2 separate regions of the Homo sapiens genome follow, and region 1 is linked to region 2. Evidence: promoter capture Hi-C in 16 types of primary human blood cells and fetal thymus (Javierre and others, 2016). All regions are on one chromosome and are shown on one strand. Each heading gives the region's core, a stretch centred on a gene start or on the middle of the fragment in contact. The rest is flanking DNA. Distances are from core to core; before and after follow the strand shown.

Region 1 (4,568 bases), core at 1,028-3,527, 2.0 Mb before region 2:
ACTCTGTTACGCCCAGGCTGGAGTGCAGTGGCGTGATCTCAGCTCACTGCAAACTGTTTCCTGAGTAGTTGGAATTTCAGGCTCATGCCACAATGACTGGCTAATTTTTGTATTTTTAGCAGAGACCAAGTTTCCTCATGTTGGCCAGCCTGGTCTCAAACTTCTGGCCTCAAGTGATCTGCCCTCTTCAGCCTCCCAAAGTGGTGGGACTACAGGTGTGAGCCTAGCCAATTTTTTGCTATGTATTTTAAATGTCATGTTATTTTTTGCATGTGGTTGCCTGCTATATTTAACAGTCAATTTGTAATCTTGCTGTGTCTCTCTTCTCAATGGCCTATTATAGGATGCATCTATTGTTTGCTTTTACTAAAAATTCAGTGTGAAAGTCTATTTTAATATCATAGTTGACACAAATTTTTAACTATTTTTAGATTATATATTTTTTATTTTTTGTCTTTTATTGTTTTTGAGGTTAAGATAATTATTTATAAGAATAAATGTAACAATATTTAAAAAACATTCTTAAACCTGTCTTATATCAACATGAAAATAAATGACATTTTGGCCACCAAAAAGGAATTTAACATATTTTATATCTTTGATTTTAGGTCTCCTCTGTCTACTGAAGACAAAGTCTTAATTTCAAAAATCAAAGTGCAAAATATCTCTCATAACTTTGCCGGCTTCTAATCTCTAGTCTTACCTACTGCCTTTTCTCCATTTAATTACTTTTTTCCTACAGTCTAATTGAATTTCTTTTTCAACAAATTGTTTCTTTTCTTTAGACTTTTACATGTGTTATTTCCCCTTGAATTGGACAAAATATACAAGACTTCTTAAACTACTTTATGTATTCTTATATTTCTCAAATCCAGTTTAAATACTACATCCACTTGAAGGCCTTCTTTAACCTTTACTTTGATCTGACTGTCCTCCACTATGTTCCCATATTTTGATCTTATTTTTAAAAATCATTAATCACATTGTTTTGGTTTTGTTAAATTGTATAAAAATCCCTGATGGAAATTTAAAATTCTCTCAGACAAATCGTGAGTTGTACTTCTTTTCAACTCCACACTTAGTATCATTTTTTTTTTATTTCAGAAGGCTTTTAATAAATATGTATTATTTAGGAACATTTCTGACAGCTTTTCCCACATTTACTAACCTCATTATAATCCTTCTGCAGAAATGGATCTTAACCTAGAATCCTCAAACTTAAAAAAATATGGGAGCCATCAGCAAGTTCACAGGAAAATTTTTGGAAAATAAACTCTGTATCTGAAGAGAATGTCTCCTCATGTATCTGTAAAAAGAATCCATTACTCTAAAATATTCAGAAAGATCAGTATATATTTATTATGTAGAAACTGCTTTCAAGAGATTGATTGTTGAGGAATTTTTCCATGGAAATCATAAATGTATTTTCACTGGGTTCTACTGTAGTTGTGTAAACCAACAGGTCCTTCAACAAGAGTTCTTCAGAAATCATATACTTACGTAAAAGGAAAAAACATTACTTATGTAAAATAAACATAGTCTACTCTGTTTCAGTATATAACCTCACAATAAGAATTGATCTATATGCTAAGTAGGCTAATTCTTCAATATAATTTGGAAGTGTCATTGATGTATGCACATAAAACTCATATCACCAAGGTCCACTGAATACTAAGTGTATTAACATAGGCAAGAGGAAAGAATACCAGGTAGAATTATCTTTTACCCCCATGATCTTCCCCTTGGTTGAGCCTGACCTCATCCTCTGCATTAAAAGCTTATTTACAGTTCTCTCTCATAATGATGGTGGTGAGTCAAATAAAAGACAAGGAGCCAGAGTCCTCTGTCTGCAGTGCCACTATAATTCACCTGTAATTCACGTAGAGCTCTCACCTGCATCTTCACCTGCAACTTCTACATATAGTTTCCTTCTGTCTTGTTTACAAAACTCAGCTGTTTTATGCCTTTCTTACCTTCCTTTACATCAAATAACTCACATTTTGTTTTGTAAAGGCCAACATTTATTGTAACATTTCTTCTTGTGTTAGAGTTTTATTTGCATAGGTATTGTTTTTGTTAGTACTCTGGATAAAAAGTGCAATGAGTCCATTTCGATTTTTATTTGGAGATATATTTTTACAACGATTGTTTTCCACAGATGCATATATAGTGTTAGAGTGTGAACCTCTCTCTTTATATAATTTTAATAGGTTTGATTTAAAAGCTCTAGAACAAGTTTCATGAAGCAAATGTCACAAAATATATAATATAGTTTAAAATGTTTTTAAAATTACATACATACATTGATTTCCGGACATTATAATTTATTTATAACAACAAGTGATGGGTACTAAAATTTACTAAATATATGTAAACTCACTTAATAAACAACAAACGTGCTTGCTTGCTACTTTTCCATACATTAATCACATGGTCATGATACAAGGGAATTTGAGAATAACAAGGTAAAAATCACCAGAAATTCATTCTAATTGTTACAGAGTATTGACCCATCATATTTCATACATTAGAGAATGAAATTTTAATTTTACTTAATTTATGTTATTAGGTGTTTTATTTTTTAACAAGTTTAAGTTGTAGGATATAGGTTTTTAAAAGATAGGTGAAAAGCAAATACAGACTATGGCCACCAAATCAATAGACCTTTAAAAACCAATTAGTTCTTCAAATATATACCAAATGGACAAGGTACACATTAATATGAAAGTCATAAGTAAGAAAAGTAAATAGAAAAAGGAAAGTAATTGCTTTTCAGTGAAGCTTTAAAAAGAATAAACCAAAGCAGTCAGGAAGAAAATCCTGTGGCTTACAAAATGATTTGCCATTGCAACGGTTAATTTCTAGTTTATAATGGGTTTTATTTCCACACTTTTGCAGTAATACATTCATTTCATGCCCAATTTATACCAGAGTTGGCCAGAGAATCCCTTATAGAGATAAGGCAGTTATATTTCATCTTATCTTCTGAGCTATATCAGCATAACATTCTGTAACACTGGAAGATACTAACACAATGTACCAATAAAATGTAGGCAAGATCAGTTTTATCTCTCTAATGGAGAAAAGACTGTTGATTTAATAACACATGTAGCTTTCAATCTACTCAGCTAGCATAGCTGTATTGTGTTAGTCAGTTTGACTCATTTCTCAAAATTTTGAATGGCACTTGTTTTTGCTTATATACATCACTAAATTATTCAAAACTGATTATGTATATGGAAGTATACTTTAAAAAGTGGGACATTAGCAAGCAAACTTCACTTTTCTTTTTGATGTACTTCATTACATTTCAGCTTTTAAAGGGAGAAAAAAACTAAAAAGTATATAGCCAAAATATTTAAATTTTGTAATATCAAAATTGTAATAATTATACTAGGGAAAACATTTAATTTAGGAAAACAAAGCTTGCATGTGATAATAATCATATGAAATCTAGTTAGTATGTTTTGGTAATCTTGATTAACAAAAGTTTACATAAGCTTTTATAGAATGCAGGCATATTTGAGACTCCTACTGTCATTTTTTTAGTTACAAAGGGTAGATGAGAAATAATATTTTTTTATGAGAGTGTAGTACAGGAAGAACCTAATTGCTATTTTCATGAGAAGATGAAGGGAGTGTGAAAGTGAGAAGTTAAGAATGAGAGTTTGTTTGCCAAAAGACAGAGAGTCCAGAGCATGCAGTGAAATGAATTTAGAGAGAGGAGATAGGGAGGACTTGGTGAAGAGAAAAGGAAGAACACACAGCTATGGGCAGGAAAATACGAATATGGAAAAGATGGTAGTTAAAATTGGCAATGTGATTTTCTAAAGCATTATCACAGAGAGGTGGATTAGAATTCACTTAGGCTTTTCATAAACAGCAGCAGCGCTCTGGATGGTCTGCAGTCCTAACATATATTATTACCTTCTTAATTGAAGGACACCAGCCAATTCCGAAAGGAAGATCCTGGTTTGGATTAACTATATGTTTTAAAGGTGCAGTGAGGTCCAAGGTGGAACTCAAGAGTTCATTGTTACCTGCATTTATGCTCATAAAAAGTCAAGTAGAGGCATCTGTGACTGCCCACTGTGAGATGCTAAAGTCTAAGTTTGCAAGGCTGGGGAAGAGGGTGGGAAGTCGGGGAGTGGAAGGAGGTGTGGAAGTCAGGATGTTCCATAAAGGCAGGGAATATATGGACAGCCCAGCATAGGTTTTCAAAGACCAATCATAGGTATTCAGAACCCAAGAGGATAGAGAGGTGGCAACAGAAATGATGGGACATTGTTTACACATAGTGAGATTAAGCAATACTCATTTGAACTCCTTAAGTAAGCATATAATAGCAAGCAATAATAATCAAATGTCTCACTGTAGGAGAACAGAGTTAAAAATAAGAATCTTATGGATGTGATAGTACTCTGTTTCTTGGTCCAGGTTCTGATTACATTAAAGTGCAAGTGTTTCTGTGAATCTGAGTTTTCATTTCTCTGGGATAAATGTTTAAGAGAAGAATTACTGTCTTATAAGTGCATGTGTTACTAAGAAACTATCAAATATTTTCCAGA
Region 2 (4,083 bases), core at 964-3,463:
ACTTTTCTTGAGTCTGTGCTTATGTACTTAAAGAGAAGTTGTATATTCTCTCCTACACATTCATTCTCTAATAATTCTCTGCTCTTATCTATTTATAAAACTAAGAATAATATGAAGATGAAAAAAGTCAATGTTTGCTAAACCTAAGATTTTACTATAATCTCTTATGGTGAATAACGAGACAATGCTAGCACTCTTTGTTTGACATCACCTCAAATTTTTTATAGCTACATTGGCATTCTGTTCATGAAACACAAGTAAAGCGATGACTTCATTCCCGAGGATAAAGGATAATTGATCTTAACCTTCCTATCACTTTTCCTTAACTCAAAGCACTAATGCAATTGAAGGTACTGATAAATAAAATTTCTCCAGGAAATGAATGACATTGTGACAGATAACCTCCAAGTTACCTCCAAAAAGTACAAAGTACAATATGATTCAGAATCTCAATTCAGGAAACCCTTGCCCCACAGTGTGAATGGAAAGCTGCCAAAAATATTTTGTTGAAAAGAAATTCAAACTTTGAGGATATTTTTTCTTCCTCAGTTTTTAAACAAAAAAAAAAACCTAATTTCAACAAAATCCCAACAATTCAAAATGAAGCAATGTTCAAAGCTGGATTATTCATTTACATTAAATTTATTAGTGTGATGCTTTTATTACCACAAACCTAAAACATTTTGCCACCTTTATCTCCTGATGTTACCAACTAATCCTGATAAAACATATAAAGCTAAGTAATGGCTCTGGAAAACTGTGTATAACTATATTAAGTTGCTACTTCACCAAGATAGTAGTATTCCCATCTCTTTTCCCTTTCTTTTTTTCCAGTCACTGATGATACTTACCATACTGAGCTGGAGTATGTGAATATGGCTGATTTTGGCCACATAATTTTGCCATACTTTTTAAAACAGAGGTCAACAGCTAAATTAAGGCAAAATTTTACCACATTTTTAAAAATCGGAGTCTAAAGAATGGAGGGAAGGTTATTGATTGCCACGTTAATGTAACATTTCCCTTTCCAGAACAAGTAATTATGCCTCTTTAATGTAAATATGGTAACCCACTCAACGTAAGCTAATCTAGAGAACAGACGCCCAAAGCACACTGTCACCCAATACACGAGCGCACACACACACACAGTGGCCAGAGGACAGAGCAAATTCAGAAACCCAGAGCTCAGCACCTTGCATAGAACTGTCACCCCTGACAACCTTCACACAAGCACACCTGGCTGGCTTAGATTTGCAGCACCAGTATACCTTACTGGTAACCCAGCTGCAGCCCACCATCACAGCCCGCAAACGCAAGCCCACAACCCCACACACCCCGTCACTTTTTCCAAGAGACCTGTACGCCGGCCCCAAGCCTCACTGGCTCCGAGCCCGTCCGGAGTTTCCGCGGCCGCCCCGAGGCCACTAACCGTGTCTGCAGTCGCAGTAGCCCCAGTCCACCTTGCCACGGGCGTCTCCGTAGAAACACCAGGGTCTGCCCGCGCCGTCGGGGCTCCGACAAAAGTTGTGGCGCTGTCCTCGCAGCTGAGCCCAGCTCGCTGGGGGCGACCGCTCCAGGAAGGGTGGCACCTCCGCCCACCGCAGACACGGGGCGCCGAAGTCCGTCACGCTGACCCATGGCTCGCCGGCGGGGCAGCCCCAGGGGTGCGGCCGGGGCGTGTGCCCGGCCTGGAGGGCGTGCGGGCGCTGGGCAGGGAGCGCCCGCGGGGGGCGCGGGAAGCGCGGGAGAGGCGGCGGCGGACGCGTCCTCGGGGGCCGCTGCTGGGTGGGAAGGTAATAGGGGTAGTGCGGACCCGCAGGGGGCGAATGGCGGTGGCTGTGGTGGAGGGAATCATTGAGGACAGAATCAAAGCCGACCACTTCGGGGAGCGCCCCTAACATCAGGGCTAGCACGAAGCGGGCGAGCGTCATGGTGCCAGCGCTGCGGGGTCTGGTCCATGCTCCCCAGCTTCTCGGGCTTGGAGCGGAGAAGAGGAGGGGGCGGGGGCGGGGCTGCCGCGTCCCTCGAATCCCCCAGCCCCCTCCCGCCCCCGCACGCGGACCGCCCTCGCCTCCCCAACCTTGCCTCCCGCCGCTGGTGCCCTGCCGCGCCTCGGCTCCTGTCCCCTGGCGGCGGCCGCGGGTGGGGAAATCTGGAGCTCAGCCGAGCCCCGGCCGGCGGAGAGGACCGGAAAAGAGAAGGCGCGGACGCAGCGGGGAGCGGTTGGGCCTGAGCCCCAGGTAGCGGCGCAGGCACGAGCCCGGGAACTCTGCCCCCTGGGGGCGGGCGCCGGCCGCGCAAGCTGCTCCGGACCTACGCTCGGCCCCTGCCAGGCCCACCGCAGTCCGCCCGCACGGCACTGCCAGCTGCTGGGACCGAGCCCGAGGGTGCCCGCGCGGAGCACGGTCTTGGCTGCCCCTTGCCAGCATGCAGCACCAGCACAGCCCGGCGTTGGCGGCTCCCAAATCTGGCACCGGCCCCTGCCGTCATCTCTCCTCCAACCTCGTCGCCCCGTATCTTGCTTCCTCTGTTTTGAAATCTTTACCAAAGTATGGATGGATTTAGATGCAGCTCTTCCCTGACAACTCCCAGGATAAAAGTTATCAAAACCCACGAGGAATGTTAAAGCCATTTCACTGAACTATACGCTCTTCAAGGACAAGACCACGTTTTATTCAGCTTGATATCACCGTGCTTAACACCGTGCCCCAATAAACATTGGCTGAAATTAAAATCCTGAACCGACTCAGGGAAAGGAGCTTGAGCCTTTCTGCTTCCTGCCTCCCACTTTCCAGCCGGTGCCCTGGACAACACCAGTTGTTTGGTTATTATTGGGATTCAGTGAGGCTCTCTTAATACCAAATTTCCTCTCTAACCAGAGAAGACTTCATCCGTCCCGGTTTCCATCCTATCCAAAAAGTCCACCCCCCTAGCACCTGCCTCGTTTTTTGCAGGGCAAGGGACTTCTGTTAAGCCTATTCATTTGCCTCTCCAGAGACTCTGCCTGCTGACAATTTTGAAGCTTCACTGTTGGCTCGACCTCAGCTTAGTAGGGCCCTTTCAACACTCCTCGCCCCCCTCCCGCAGGCTCCAAAAAACTGTTGGCTTAGAATCTTAAAAAAAAAAAGTTACTGGAGCTGTATGTTTTAGTATTTTGCCTTTCAGTTGTTTCTGACTATGCTACCAAAGTTTGACAAGGAGAAGGAAGCCCGTAAAGAAGGCAACATTTTATTTTCTGGCATGGTCACGTTTCGTTGTGAAAAAGCAATGCTGTCTCATAATATAATGTACCCTGAAGAAAACTTGAACAAAATTCAAATGTTTATTGTTAAAACCTAGGTTTCAATTAGGAACTGAATTAATTCACTACTAGCTTTAAATAAGCCATCTTTAGCCGGGCGAGGTGGCTCACACCTGTAATCCCAGCAGTTTGGGACGCCCAGGCAGGCGGATCACATGAGGCCAGGAGTTCGAGAACAGCGTCGCCAACATGATGAAACCCGCCTTTACTAAAAATACAAAAAGCCGGGGGAGTGTTGGCGCACGCCTGTAATTCCAGCTACTTGGGAGGCTGAGCCAGGAAAATCGCTTGAACCTGGGAGCAGAGGTTGCAGTGAGCCGAGATCGTGCCACTGCACTCCAGCCTGGGCGACAGAGGGAGACGTTGTCTCAAGAAAAAAAAAAAAAATCCATCTTTAATTTTGTGGGTCGTTTTATTGTTTTTTGTTTCACTCCTATTAATGAAATATTTGATTTTACTTTAGAGAGAATTGGGTAAAAGAAATGATGTTAAGAGTCCAGGGATGTATTTGTCAAATCTTTATTCAAGTTGTTTTCATTCCAGTTGTTTTTACCCATTATTTTTTTACTAATACTTTTCTGGCTCCAAAAGCATAGTTAAATCTATACTTGTGGAAGACAATGAAAGATAAAATATATATCTGGAGTAGTCTATTTGTTCATTTTAGTGAGGGTTGGCAGAGCTCATCAATCACAGATTTTTGAAATAATAGGTGACAGTTCTATCAGGGGTCAGCCCTTTTTCTTTCTGACTAGCTTTTCCACCTTAGGCTACACACCTGA

What was found. Contacts are between HindIII fragments. The CHiCAGO score rates a contact against its expected background, and 5 or more counts as called.
Region 1: a fragment that was not itself captured here is called in contact with the fragment with the promoter of PRSS12 in region 2 in 2 of 17 cell types (M0 macrophages and M2 macrophages); the score reaches 5.5 in M0 macrophages.

Annotation. Positions count from the first base shown.
Region 1 is chr4:116,343,923-116,348,490 of GRCh38, forward strand. LOC105377384 (a long non-coding RNA gene) reads left to right here and starts at 174. Exons shown (of 3, transcript XR_939097.3): 1 at 174-215. The HindIII fragment of the contact is 1,004 bases long and covers 1,776-2,779 here.
Region 2 is chr4:118,350,790-118,354,872 of GRCh38, forward strand. PRSS12 (serine protease 12) reads right to left here and starts at 2,214. Exons shown (of 13, transcript NM_003619.4): 1 at 1,430-2,214. The coding sequence starts at 1,931. RefSeq lists an enhancer at 1,959-2,804 and silencers at 2,071-2,150, 2,181-2,440. The HindIII fragment of the contact is 7,140 bases long and covers 1-3,020 here.